3 separate regions of the Homo sapiens genome follow, and regions 1 and 2 are each linked to region 3. Evidence: promoter capture Hi-C in human tissues and cell types (Jung and others, 2019). All regions are on one chromosome and are shown on one strand. Each heading gives the region's core, a stretch centred on a gene start or on the middle of the fragment in contact. The rest is flanking DNA. Distances are from core to core; before and after follow the strand shown. Region 1 overlaps ZBED6 (zinc finger BED-type containing 6). Region 2 overlaps ZBED6 (zinc finger BED-type containing 6). Region 3 holds the start of OPTC (opticin).

What was found. Contacts are between HindIII fragments. The study calls those that stand out against the background at their distance.
Region 1: a contact is called between a fragment that was not itself captured here and the fragment with the promoter of OPTC in region 3, in 2 of the 25 tissues and cell types used here (hippocampus and spleen).
Region 2: a fragment that was not itself captured here is called in contact with the fragment with the promoter of OPTC in region 3 in 2 of the 25 tissues and cell types used here (H1 embryonic stem cells and IMR-90 fibroblasts).

What each region holds. Positions count from the first base shown.
Region 1 is chr1:203,851,401-203,855,980 of GRCh38, reverse strand. ZBED6 (zinc finger BED-type containing 6) reads right to left here. Exons shown (of 17, transcript NM_001395895.1): 17 at 1,857-3,840. It overlaps ZC3H11A (zinc finger CCCH-type containing 11A), which reads right to left. Exons shown (of 18, transcript NM_001376342.1): 18 at 1,857-3,840. The coding sequence ends at 3,582. Among named protein-coding and RNA genes, the nearest start is that of SNRPE, 7.9 kb to the left of the region's middle. The HindIII fragment of the contact is 4,531 bases long and covers 337-4,580 here.
Region 2 is chr1:203,809,735-203,814,435 of GRCh38, reverse strand. All of the region lies in intron 1 of ZBED6 (zinc finger BED-type containing 6), which reads right to left. All of the region lies in intron 2 of ZC3H11A (zinc finger CCCH-type containing 11A), which reads right to left. Among named protein-coding and RNA genes, the nearest start is that of ZC3H11A, 16 kb to the right of the region's middle. The HindIII fragment of the contact is 4,767 bases long and covers 1-4,692 here.
Region 3 is chr1:203,492,099-203,496,541 of GRCh38, reverse strand. It overlaps OPTC (opticin), which reads right to left and starts at 2,389. Exons shown (of 8, transcript NM_014359.4): 1 at 2,325-2,389; 2 at 306-577. The coding sequence starts at 536. RefSeq lists a silencer at 2,668-2,896 and an enhancer at 4,284-4,443. The HindIII fragment of the contact is 22,199 bases long and covers 1-4,443 here.

The DNA.
Region 1 (4,580 bases), core at 1,353-3,852, 360 kb before region 3:
GGCCAGGCTGGTCTCAAACTTCTGACCTCAGATGATCCACCCACCTCGGCCTCCCAAAGTGCTGGGATTACAGGCGTGAGCCACCGTGCCCAGCCAAAATTACTTTTTTTAAATGTAAAACTAAATTCTTGATTGCTGTTCTTATTTACGGTCATTACTTATTTTTTGCCCACTTTATTGAACAAACTTAAGAGAATGGTCAAGGATTTTAATTGTGTTCATGCCCCTTAACTAATATCTTTTTGCAAATTCAAAATAAATTGCGGTTTGGAGTCTTAATTATTAATGCAGTTAAATGTCTGGGTTGTAGGAATTTTCAGAGTTACTGAGCAGCTTCATAAAGTCATGATTTTAAAAAACACTCTTGAAAAGATCTACTAATCAAACCCAATGGCACATAATATATAAACATACTGACCCTGAAACTTCAGTGCGGGAATAGTCATCTTTAATGTACTGTATAATTTAGTGTCAAAATGAGGACGTGAATTAAAGATACACAATAAGTACTCAATAAATGTTAGCTAATTTAAGTTTTACCTATTAAGCAGTTACAACTGGAGACCATGTATTTCCTGTGCTACAGCCAAATTCAAAGCAATCAAATACTTTACAGAACTGCAGAACTGTTGGCTGGGCGTGGTGGCTCACAACCTGTAATCCCAGCACTTTGGAAGGCCGAGGAAGGCCTATCACTTGAGGTCAGGGGTTCCAGACCAGCCTGGCCAACATGGTGAAATCCTGTCTCTACTAAAAATATAAAAATTAGCCAGGTGTGGTGGTGCACCCCTGTAATCCCAACTACTGAGGAGGCTGAGGCAGGAGAATCGCTTGAAACTGGGAGGCAAGAGTTGCAGTGAGCCAAGATTGTGCCACTCTGCATTCTATCCTGGGCAACAGAGTGAGACTCTGTCTTAAAAAAAACACCCTGCAGAATTATTCTGGCAAAATAAAGCCACCATTTTAGAAAAGGATCATGGAACTCTGATCAATATATTAATAGATCAAGCTTTGTTACTGCAATTGTAATTAGTAAACATCAGTCTCATCTTTCAAATACTGATCAAGATGAAAACACACTATGTTCTAGCTTTAAAGAAGAACCACTGAGATTTAGGGTTAAGGCTAGAACTTTAGGAATTATTATCTTGAGATAAAATATATGAAACATAAAACTATCTTATTTCTGGCTATAACCAAACTGGAATATTTGGGCCCTTTTCTTACTGTTAAAATGAAAAACTATCATTCAAAACTATAGTCTTTTGCTTTTTGTGAAAAGTTGATTCAACTTGTTGGGACGACTTTTAGACTAATAGGAAAAATCTATGTTCTTTGGTAGCTAACAAACATATACTTTCCTACAATTTTAAAAATTGGCACACATATTAAGAAACCTGGACTTCTATAAATTAAATTTCTTATCTGCTGCACCTTCATGCTTGAAAATTCTAAATCGTTGACTCTAAAGATCAAGTTTATTCATTTATTTATTTTTTATCAGCCTCTTGAGCCAGAGTAGGCCCAGAGAGACTCCCTAAGATCACTTTTAAACCCTCCCTCCTTTTAAAAACTTAATGGCATTGCTTGAGTTACAACACTAAGGAGTAAGTATCCGTGTCAGAAAAAAAATCCTCACATTATAATAATATAAATTCTTACCTAAAGCATATGCAGCTAAAATTGAGCACACTTGTAAATTTGGCAATATATCCAGATGAAAGGTTTCTAAGCCAAATAATAACTGAAATTCGGGCACTTACACGAAAGGCCAATAGCATTCTGTCTGGGGTCTCTTGTCAAGATGGATCCCAGGCTGATATGATGATGTAAGATTACTTAGCTCACAACATCAAGACTTTCCTACATCAGTTTTATTTAAAACACAAACAAGTATTTCTCTTTCTGTAAGGGCAAATGGTTCAAATAATGCGGAACACGAAACATTGACTAATACAAGTGCTTTAAATATGAAACAAAATTATTTTTTAAAAAAGCAAAAGAATAAAGAATATATACAAAAGGGACCTGGAATCTGTAAGCTGATTCCAAAAACGAAATAAGTAGAAAATCCATGGTGAAACCTGAACATTCTACCTCTGCTTTGGAGAAGGGCTATCATACAACATTCAGTCAGCTGAAGATGGATTGGTAGAGGTGTGTCTATACATAAACTTCAGTCATTTTTGCTTGTGCAGAATCATCCCAATCTTCCCAAGACTGAATGGGCAGTCCTGTGGCTTTCTTCCTTTTCCATATTCCCAACAAGGCTACGTGAAGTTCAACTCTTGATGAGCCGCTTACAACAGCAGTTCCTTAGGAGCCAACATGACAGGTGGGTCAGATTTCCCTATGAGAAACAAAACTGGCCACCTACAGCAAAATATCAAAATGGGTAAGTCCTTCCTTCCTCTTCCTCCTGATTATATACAACATATCTCCTTTCAAGACTATTATTTCCATCATGCTTATTCCTTCACAAATCTAAACCTTGAGGTGATATGAAGGAAACCAACATCAAGAAAAGAAAACTCAATTCAGAAATGAAGAAAACTGGCAGGTATACAATACACCCCCAGAGCATCTCAATATCCCTGGCACAGTACAATTCAGTGTACTGCTACAGCCCATAGATAAATATTGGCAGCTTGAATAAGCTCATTTTTTCCCTCAGGTGGTTAAAGGCCACCAAACAAATACTGGGCAACAGGGGTTTGTTGGGAGAGTTAGAAATAAAAAATTAACCAAATTTTGTCCCTGTGTTAATTCAATGCCAGCAAGGAGGCAAGTACTGAAGAAGAAAAAGGACAATTTTCATACTAAAAAAGAATTCCTCTAATCATGTCACCATCTCATATAATGAATCCAGGGAATCCCAGAAATAGAAAATTAGTTTCAGGGGACCCCTGAGGCACTTTAAAGCCTTTTAAAAAATTACAGTAATAATAAATTAGATATTGCTCTTCAGAGGCTAACAGAGCAGCAGAAGCATCAAGATCAGGTCCAAAGAGTTATGCCCACATTACAGGCTTCCTGAGCTGCTCAGCCCTCTTTAAAGCTTAGTTGAATCTTTAAATACCTTTAAAAAGACATACAATTTAACACAGACTGAGTGGGTATTTTTGTTTAGTGGTAGCATAAAATTTGGTCCTTAATGGTAGCAGCTGTCTTCATCCATTTCAAACTCAGGTAATATTAAGTACATCAAGACAATACATAAAGAATACAACAAAGAAGAAAAAAGCCAAAACTGACAAACACCTCAAGGAGTCACTAAGTTCGCTTGCACCCTTTCACTTGATCTCCCTCTCAGTCTCTTTTTTGTGGAGAGAAGGGTATGACAGAACTTTTTTCTCAAAAGATGATAAACAATGGCATCAAATGGACAAAATGGTTATAAAGTAACTTTAAAAATCTGACCCCAAGGAATCCAGGACACATACAGATAATTCAGAGGTATACTTCTGATTTGGGGCAAATTCTAGACTAAAGAAATGATCATCTCAGGTAAATGTTACAATAGATGAAACTAAGTCCAGTTTTTTGGCGATTTTTTTTTTAAAGTGTCCTCACTACCACCTTCAGCTATCAATCATTTCTGATAGCTCAAGCAGAAGGTCATCTTCATCTTTCCCAGGATCCAGGTCAATCTCAGCTTCCAATTTGCCTCCTGAAATCTCCCATATTAGTTTCTCAAAATCATCCTCCACAGAGAGTGGGGGCTTTCCTGTTGAGGCAGAGCTGAGTCGGCGAGTTTTCATGCTCATTTGGGATGAGGAAGGGCCAGACACCTCCGGGGGTGAGGAATCTGAAGAGGACTGGGTTGGAGGCAGCACAAGACTGTAAGAAAAAAAAGATTATTAGAAAACTGCCGTTTTAAAAATAGTTGGCTGAATCACCTAGTCTCACGGACACAAAGTGAGCAAAAATTTGTTTTTAAGAACATACATAAAGAAATAATTCTTTTACTGATTTGGGATCAAGCTTTTTTTTTTTTTTTTTTTTTTTTTTTGAGGCAGAGTCTCCCTTTGTCACCCAGGCTGGAGTGTAGTGGTACAATCATGGCTCACTGCAGCCTCGACCTCCTGGGCTCAAGCGATCATTTTGCCTCCGCCTCCCAAGTAGCTGGGTCTACAGGTGTGTGTCACCATGTGATTTTTTTTTTATTTCTTTGATTTTTATTAGAGACAAGACCTCACTATGTTGTCCAGGCTGGTCTTGAACTCCTGAGCTCAAGTGATTCTCCAGCCCCAGTCTCCCAAAATGTTGGGATTACAGGCATAAGCCGCCTTGCCTGGCCAGCACCAAGCATTTTTATAACTCAAAGTAGGTGTTAAAGACATCTTTCAGGGGCCGGGCATGGTAGCTCATGCCTGTAATCCCAGCACTTTGGGAAGACGAGGAAGGTGGATCACTTGACGTCAGGAGTTTGAGACCACCCTGGACAATGTGGCAAAACCCTGTCACTACTAAAAATACAAAAATTAGCTAGGCCTTGTGGCAGGCACCTGTAATCCCAGCTACTTGGGAAGCTGAGGCAGGAGAATTGCTTGAACCCGGGAAGTGGAGGTTGCAGTGAG
Region 2 (4,701 bases), core at 1,060-3,559, 320 kb before region 3:
TCTCCCGCCTCAGTCTCCCAAGTAGCTGGAATTACAGGCTTGCACCACCACATATGGCTAATTTTTGTATTTTTAGTAGAGACAGGGTTTCGCCATGTTGGCCAGGCTGGTCTTGAACTTCTGACCTCAGATGATCCTCCCACCTCAGCCTCCCAAAGTGCTGGGATTACAGGTGTGAGCCAGCGCCTGGCCGGAAAGGTTATTCCTGTTAAAAAGTGGCAGAGAACTTAGAATTGGGTTGTGTTGGGCAGAAGGCAGAACCTGGAAGCAATGAACTTGGGTTTTAGCTGAGGAGATTTCTAAGCAAAGTGTGGAAGGAACAGCCTGGGCTTTTCCTGCTGCTTACAGTGAAATGCAAGGAGAGAGACATATTGAGGCAAGAACTATGAAGCAAAAAGGAATAAAGAATCTGAACTTGAAAATTTAGAAAATTCTCACTCTATCCATATTGCAAAAAAAAAAAACAAGAATGTATGCTCTGTAGAGAAAAGGGTATGGGTGGGCAACAGTTTGTTGGAGATTAGGTGTGTGACTAGATTCAGGCAACCATCTTAGCAAAAAATGTTGCCAGCTTAAAATGAAAGAGACAGACATGTACAGAGGGAATGTGATGAGAAGACACACAAGGAGAAGATGACCATGTGGCTGGAGTGATGCATCTACAAACCAAGGAATGCCAAGGATTGCCAACAAACACCAGAAGCCAGAATGGGTAAGGATCATTCCTCTACAGGCTTCAGAGGGAGAATGGCCCTGCTGAAAACATTTTAGACATCTCACCTTCAGAATTGTGAGACAACAAACTTCTGTAGCTACCCAGTTTGTGATACTTTGTTATGGAAGTCCTAGGAACTAATACAGATAACAAGCATAGTCAAATGACCTTTGACAAAGGGGAAAAGGATAGTCTTTTCAACATATGTTACTGGAACAAATGGATATCCACATATAAAAAAATAATTTTAGACACAGACTTTATACTTTTCACAAAAAATAACATGGATAACAACTTAAATACAAAAGAAAACCAATAAATTGGTTTTCAATAAAAACCATTAAAATTTAGCCAGGCATGGTGGTGAATGCCTGTGATCCCAGCTACTGAGGAGGCTGAGGCAAGAGAATTGCTTGAACCTGGGAGGCGGAGGTTGCAGTGAGCTGAGATCACACCACTGCACTCCAGCCTAGGCAACAAGAGCAAAACTCCATCCAAAAAAAAACAAAAAACAAAAAACAAAAAAACATTAAATTGGAGTTCATTAAAATTAAAAAGGTCTGCTCTGTGAAAGCTCTGTTAAGAAGCTTAAGAAAGAATGAAAAAGCCACAGGCTGGGAGAAAATATTTGCAAAACATAACTGATAAGGTCTGATATACAAAATATATAACTCTTGAAACTCAAAAATAAGAAAACAACTCCCCAATTCAAAAAGGCAAAAGATCTGAACAGGTACCTCACCAAAGAAGGTATACAGATGGAAAATAAGCATTTGAAATCTTGCCCAACATCATGCATCATTAGGGATTGCAAATTCCTTTTCTAATGGCTAAAATCCATTTGGGCACAGTGGCTCACACTTGTAATCCCAGCACTTTGGGAGGCCGAGGCAGGTGGGTCATCTGAGGTCAGGAGTTCAAGACGAGCTTGGCAAACATGGTGAGACCCCATCTCTACTAAAAATACAAAAATTAGCTGGCCGTGGTAGCACACACCTGTAATCCCAGCTACTCAGGAGGCAAAAACAGGAGAATCGTTTGAACCTAGGAGGCAGAGGCTGCAGTGAGCCGAGATCATGCCACTATACTCCAGCCTGGGCAACAGAGTGAGACTCCGTCTCAAAAAAAAAAAAAAAAAAAAATTTAGAATGGCTAAAATCCAAAATACTGAAAGCACTAAATGCTGGTGAGGATGGGAAGCAACAAGACAGAAGTCTGAAAAAAACACAAAACATGGAATAGTATGCATCCAATAAAAAGGAACAAAATCATGTCCTTTGCAGGGACATGAATGGAGCCAGAGGCTATTATCCTTAGCAAACTAATGCAGAAACAGGAAACCAAATACAGCATGTTCTCACTTATAAGTGGGAGCTAAATGCTGAGAACACTTGGACACATAGAGGGGAACAACAAACACTGGAGCCTATCAGAAGGTAGAAGGTGGGAGGAGGGAGAGGATCAGGAAAAACAACTAATAGATACTAGGCTTAATACCTGGGTGATGAAATAATCTGTACAACAAACCCCCACGACACACATTTACCTGTGTAACAAACCTGCACATCCTGCACATGTACCCCTGAATTTAAAATGAAAGTTAAGGCCCAGTGTGGTGACTCATACATGTAATCCCAGCACTTTGGGAGGCCGAGGTGGGTGGATCACTTGAGGTCAGTAGTTCAAGACCAGCCTGGCCAACATGGTGAAACCTCGTCTCTATCAAAAAATATAAAAATTAGCCAAGCATGGTGGCACACATCTATAGTCCCAGCTACTCAGGAGGCTGAGGTGTGAGAATCACTTGAACACAGGAGGTGGAGGTTGCAGTGAACCAAGATCACACTACTGCACTCCAGCCTGGGTGACAGTGAGACCTGTCTAAAAAAAAAAAAAAAGAAAAAGACAAAGCTATCTGAATACTTTTCAGACATATATGCAACAAAGGAAAAAGTTTAATAATAAAAAAAGTCATTTGAGGTCAAGAGTTCAAGACCAGCCTGGCCAACATGGCAAAATCCCATCTCTACTGAAAATACAAAAAATTAGCCAGGCGTGGTAGCCCACAACTGTAGTCTCAGCTACTCGGGAGGCTAATGTACAAGAATCGCTTGAATCCAGGGGGCAGAGGTTGCAGTGAGCCACAATCTTGCCACTGCACTCCAGACTAGGCAACAGAGCAAGATTCTGCCTCCAGAAAAAAAAAGTTTTTAAGGGGAATAAAAGGCTTAGAGGTCAATCTCACTCACAAAATCAATATTCCAAAGAACATATTTGAAACTGTTACCGGTTTTAGAAAGACCAGCAACAAAGTAATTGAAACAATGAAATGGTAGCTATGAAATGCAAAGACACAGCAGAATTTACAATTTTTTGGCAACTAATTTTATTTATTTATTTATCTGGAGACGGAGTTTCGAGTTTTGCTCTTGTTGCCCAGGCTGAAGTGCAATGGCACGACCTCAGCTGACTGCAACCTCCACCTCCTGGGTTCAAGTGAGTCGCCTGCCTCAGCCTCCCAAGTAGCTGGAATTACAGGTGCCCACCACCACACTTGGCTTTTTTTTTTTTTTTTTTGTGACAGAGTTTCACTCTTCTACCCAGGCTGCTGGAGTGCAGTGGCGCAATCTCGGCTCATTGCAACCTCCACCTTCTGGTTTCAAGCGATTCTCTTGCCTCAGCCTCCCAAGTAACTGGGATTACAGGCGCCTACCACCATACCCTGCTAATTTTTTTTTTTTTTTGTATTTTTAGTAGAGATGGAGTTTCACCATAGTGGCCAGGCTGGTGTGAAACTCCTGACCTCAGGTCATCTGCCCGCCTCAACCTCTCAAAGTGCTGGGATTACAGGCGTGAGCGTCTGGCCCACAACTAATTTTCAAATCATTTTCTGCAAAGAGCCCTCAAAGTTGGGCAGAGTGTGGAGAAATGGAATCCTGAGTAGATAACACTCCCTTACTAATGTTTCAACAGAAAAAACTCCTTCGTCAGATCTAAGAGCTGGCCGGGCGCGGTGGCTCACGCCTGTATTCCCAGCATTTTGGGAGTCCGAGGCGGGTGGATCACGAGGTCAGGAGATCGAGACCATCCTGGCTGACACTGTGAAACCCCATCTCTACTAAAAATACAAAAAATTAGCTGGGCGTGGTGGTGGGCGCCTGTGGTCCCAGCTACTCTGGAGGCTGAGGCAGGAGAATGGTGTGAACCCCAGAGGTGCAGGTTGCAGTGAGCTGAGATCGCGCCACTGCACTCTAGCCTGGGCGACAGAGTGAGACTCTGTCTCAAAAAAAAAAAAAACCTAACAGCTACAATGTAAAACAAGAAAAAGGAAATAAGAGATAAAGAAAAAAAGAAAAGTTTCTTTATATATCATCTTTATACACTAAGCTTCTGTAACTTTCACTAGGATAAAAACAAATATAATTGCCATTCAAGAAAACGGCAAGGCCAGGTGCAGTGGCTCATGCCTATAATCCTAACACTTTGAGAGACCAAGGCAAGAGGATCACTTGAGACCAGGAGTTCAAGAACAGCCTGGGCAACAGACAGACCTCATCTCTTAAAAAAAAAACAAAAAACAAAAACAAAAAAAACACCACTCCAGCTTTTAAATGATGCTCCAATGACTTTATAATCAATACTATCCCATGCAAAAACACAAAACAAAGATGCACATCCATAAATTTCTTAAGTTTAAAAGGAAAAAAAAAGTATCTAGGTTGCCAAGAAAAACCCAGTTACTTTTTTTTGTTTAGTTTTGTTATTTTTGAGAGAGTCTCGCTCTGTTGCCCAAACCTGGAGTGCAGTTGCGTGATCTTGACTTACTGCAACCTCCACCTCCTGGGTTCAAGCAATTCTCCTGCCTCACCCTCCCGAGTAGCTGGAATTACAGGCGCCTGCCACCATGCCTGGCTAATTTTTGTATTTTTAGTAGAGACGGGGTTTCACCATGTTGGCCAGATTGGTCTCGAACTCCTGACCTCAAG
Region 3 (4,443 bases), core at 1,140-3,639:
TGGGGGATGTGGCACTTTTATTTCCTAGAGAATATGATGAGGACATTGCGAACCCCTCCCCCAGTGAGACATAGCTTTGGCAGGGGGAGGCAAGTATGAGTTTTGAAGAAGGAGAAGTCCCAGGTTTGTGTCCTGTTTCTTAGTATCATCTAAGTGACAAGTCCCTATGGAGGGATAAGAATTTCCACCTCACAGAGAAAGAGGTGGAGGCTGGAGACACCCGCACTTTGGGGCAGATGGGAGGGCCCTGGCCTCTGACTCCCAGTGTCATGCAGGGAATGTAGTTGGTCTGCTGTGTCCCTCACCTCGGGGAGTTGGTCCCCATAATCTGTGAGCTCCTCATAGTTGCTCAGGTCAATGACTTCACCATAGTTGTCTGGGTTCAGGACATCATTCCGCAGAGGCAGAACTTCAAAGGAATCGCCTTCCCTGGGCATCTGCTCCTCTCTCCTCTTCCTCTCCTTCCTTGGGAGAGAAGCTGTCCCTGTCTCCTGCAGCACCAAGGCCAGCAGACTCAGGAAAGCCAGGAGCCTCATGGGGAGTCAGATGGGACTGAGAATCCCTTCAGCGGCTGGTCCTGGCAAGTGGGCACGAGGAAGGGCAGCGATCTGAGGGACAGGCTCTCCAGAGTGTTGTGGGAATGGCTCGCAGATTTACTCCACTTCCCACCCCCACACTTGCAGACTCAGTGCTCTCATCACATGCACAAATTCCCTACCAGCTGGGACTATGTCTTGGGGGGTATCTCCTAGCAGCCCCCTCCCTCCACCGCCCCACTTGAGTGTTTTTACACGCTCACCCAAACACTGATATTCACTCACAGAGGCATGTGCAGACACATCTCAACACAGACACATTCACAAGAGTCCCCTTGTTTACAAACGAGGCACACACTGGTGCATGCACACAGATGTCCTCTCTTAAACAACCCCATGCTCAGAACATGACTGCTAGTCACTAAGCTCGATTTAGAGAATGTCAACATCAAATAATCTTATGGGGTCTTTTTGTTTGTTTGTTTTTTTGAGACGAAGTTTCATTCTTGTTTCCCGGGCTGGAGTGCAGTGGTGCGATCTTGGCTCACTGCAACCTCCGCCTTCTGGGTTCAAGCGAATCTCCTGCCTCAGCCTCCTGAGTAGCTGGGATTACAGGCACCCACCATGCCTGGCTAATTTTTGTATTTTTAGTAGAGAAGGGGTTTCACCATATTGGCCAGGCTGGTGTCGAACTCCTGACCTTAGGTGATCCACCCACCCTGGCTTCCCAAAGTGCTGGAATTACAGGTGTGAGCCACCGCGCCCAGTTGACTCTTGTGGTTTTTTATAAAGATCATCCATTCATGCATTTGCTCAACAAACATTTATGGGTGTCTATTGAGTTCCAGGCACAGGACTTGTCTCTGTGGGTACAGAATGAATGAGGCACAGCCCTTCCTAGGAGCACCTAGTCTCTTTAGGAGACATGGACTTACAATGAAACATACAATGTAAAAAAGAATGTTAGTTTATGAAATATACTTCTAAATGCAGCTTTTTAGAAACAGATTATTACAGATAAAAGAGTTCTTTGTGTGTGATTGCATGAGTGTGTACGCATCTGGAAATTTCCTTAGATACCTGTGTATATTTGTGTGTGTGTGCACACAGATGCCTGCGTATGTATGTGATATGCATGTGAGTACAAATGTTCATGTAGTTCGTATATGTATAGACGGGTCAGGAAATGCATGTGGTGTGGTTTTGTATCCAGGCATAAGTGTATACAACAGTCATACCCAGTGTAGGCTTAACACAGCCCTCCCCAAAGCTAGCTGCACAAGTTTCTAGTAGACTCTCCCTCTTTCTTTCTTTTAAAATTTTTTTTATCTTTTAATTTTTATTTTATTTTCTATTTTTAAGACGGTGTCACTCTGTTGCCCAGCCTGGAGTGTTATGGCATGATCTCAGCTCACTGAAGCCTTAACCTCCTGGGCTCAGGCAGTCCTCCTGCCTCAGCCTCCCAAGTAGCTGGGACTACAGGCGTGTGTTACCATGCCCAGTTAACCTCCCCACCCTTTCTTAATTTTAGCTGGGCAAGGGGGCAAGCCTCTAGCAGTAGCAAGAGGTGTTTCTTCACCTTACCTCCCATACCTCACCCCAAACGAATTACATAATCTCAAAAAAAATTTTTCTAAGAGAGTTTAGTGCCCACCCAAAAGTCTTGTCCAACTTCTTTGGCCAGAGGCCTAAACTCTCTTCATTTTCCCTTCCCAATCCCCTGCCCCAGCCAAACACTTTGCCCTCATTTGCGCACCGATGGCCAGAGGCCTCAACCTTGAGCCTTACCCCTTCAATGCTTCTGGATCCTGGATGGAGAGCCCTGCAGCTTCCAGAAAGGTGGGGACTCTGGTGGAGGCTGTCTGAACTGGGGCTTGGGTTAGACAGTGGTGCCCGGGGGAGGGCAAGGAGTTGGCCAGGCCTGCGACCAATCAGACTTCTCATTCCTTCTGATGTCCAGCTGTTTCCCCTCCTCTTTCCTCAGGGGGTCCCCTGCCCCATTCCTGTATTTGACAAAAGAGAATTCTCCCCCCACCTTCCGCTTCACCCCCCACCTCCAGCTCCTGCTCTCTCTCCTCTTACTCTGTCAGCTCCTTCTTTCTTTTCCTTGTCCACTCTCCTGATAAGGCCACATCTTTGAGGAACAGGGAGTGCCATCCCCTGCAAGGAAGGGGCCCCATCCCTCAGATTCTGAGTCCTCAGAGAAGGCTGGAGTCGGGGGATATGGAGAGATAGAGCTTGTCTTTGCAGCTTCTTTCTCCAGCCAGAGAGTGACAAGGCTTCAGCTTCATAGCCAGAATCCAAAGATAAAAATAGGTGGAAATGAGGCACTTCACCCTCACCTAGAGCGCCAGCACAGAGACCATAATTGAATAAAATCACCAGAGACAGGAGCTGCAGGCCTAGGTAGTTCAAAGAGAAGGTGTATGGGGGATGAGATCGGATTTGAAAGCCAACTTCAAGTTCACAGATGATGATCATGAGGATACGGGAAATTCTCTAAATCTGCTAGGAGGAAACCAAATGGAAATTGGGAGGTGGGCCCTAGAAAGGATCATAAACACCAGTAGACATTGTGTAGGGTCTCGGGGGCCTGGGAAGTATCCTCTCCCGCACCCTCAGAGATGTACAGTCGTCCCTCAGTAACCATGGGGGATTGGTTCTGCACGTCCAGTGGATACCAAATCCACATATGCTGAGGTCTTTTATATAAAATGGTGAATTTGCACATAACCTACGCACATCCTCCTGTGTACTTCAAATCATCTCTAGATTACCTATAACACCAAACACAATGCTTACACCTCACTCCATTCACATGGATTCCACATAGTACTGGCACACAGCAAATTCAAGTTTTCCTTTTTGGAACGTTGTGAATTTTTTTTTTTTCTGAATATTTTCAATCTGTGGTTGGTTGAATCCACGGATGTGGAACCCACAGATACAGAGGGCCAACGGCATTCATCTGGAAACACTCCCCTTTCCTTGGTGCCTCGAGCAGGCTGCCGAGCAAGTCCTTGCTGAAGGCAGAGGTGGGGTGGCTAAGGAGTCTTCCCCAGCTTCTGCCAGCCTGTGCCCTGGCGCCCACCCAGGTTTCTCAGTGACTCTCCTTGTTCCCTACTCCTTTCCACCAACCAGATACTGAATTCCAGCTGTGAGGCCCCCTAAAGATCTAGTCCAAGTCCTTGTGGTATAGATGAGGAGAGTGAGGCCCAAAGAGGTGACGTGACTTGCCCTAGGTCACACAGAGCCAGGGCCAATGCCTAGATTTTTTGACTCCCTGGTCAGAGAGTTTTCTTTAGTTCATATGACCCTCCCCATTTCCACCTTCTTCCCCAGGAGTCCTGAATCCGTGTGTTTCCAGGCCCTCAGAGCAGATGGCTTGGCAGAACTCATCTCTGCCCTGGCACACCAGGTGAAGAGGCAGATCTAATAGCCTGGCCCTCGAGGGCAGCATTTGGCTTGCTGTGTTCCTGGGCTCCAGCTGGTGCAAGAGGGGGCTTCCCTCAGCCCAAGAGCCTGGTCACCAGAGAAGAGCATGTTCTTGTACCCCTGGCAGCCCCCCACCTGGGAAAAGACACCATCAGAGGCTCTGCTGGGTGGAGGGAAAGATAGCCCTGGATCCTGGAGGGCATCCAGTAGGCAGATGGCACATTTGGCGGGCTGTATGCCTCCATCTTCTCTCCACAGCCTGGGCTTTGCAGCCAGAGGCCCTCCACCCCCACAGCCAGCCTAGGCAATCTCCCCGCTCCCACCCCACACATTTATTCCTGGGAGAAATGCAAATGCGAGTGTTCATTCACTCTCCCTGCCGCCTGCTCCCACTCTCCCTCCCTGCTTTCCCAGAGACATACGCTCCTGCCATCCCTGCTTGGTTGCCACACCCCCACCATCGTTCCTCCCC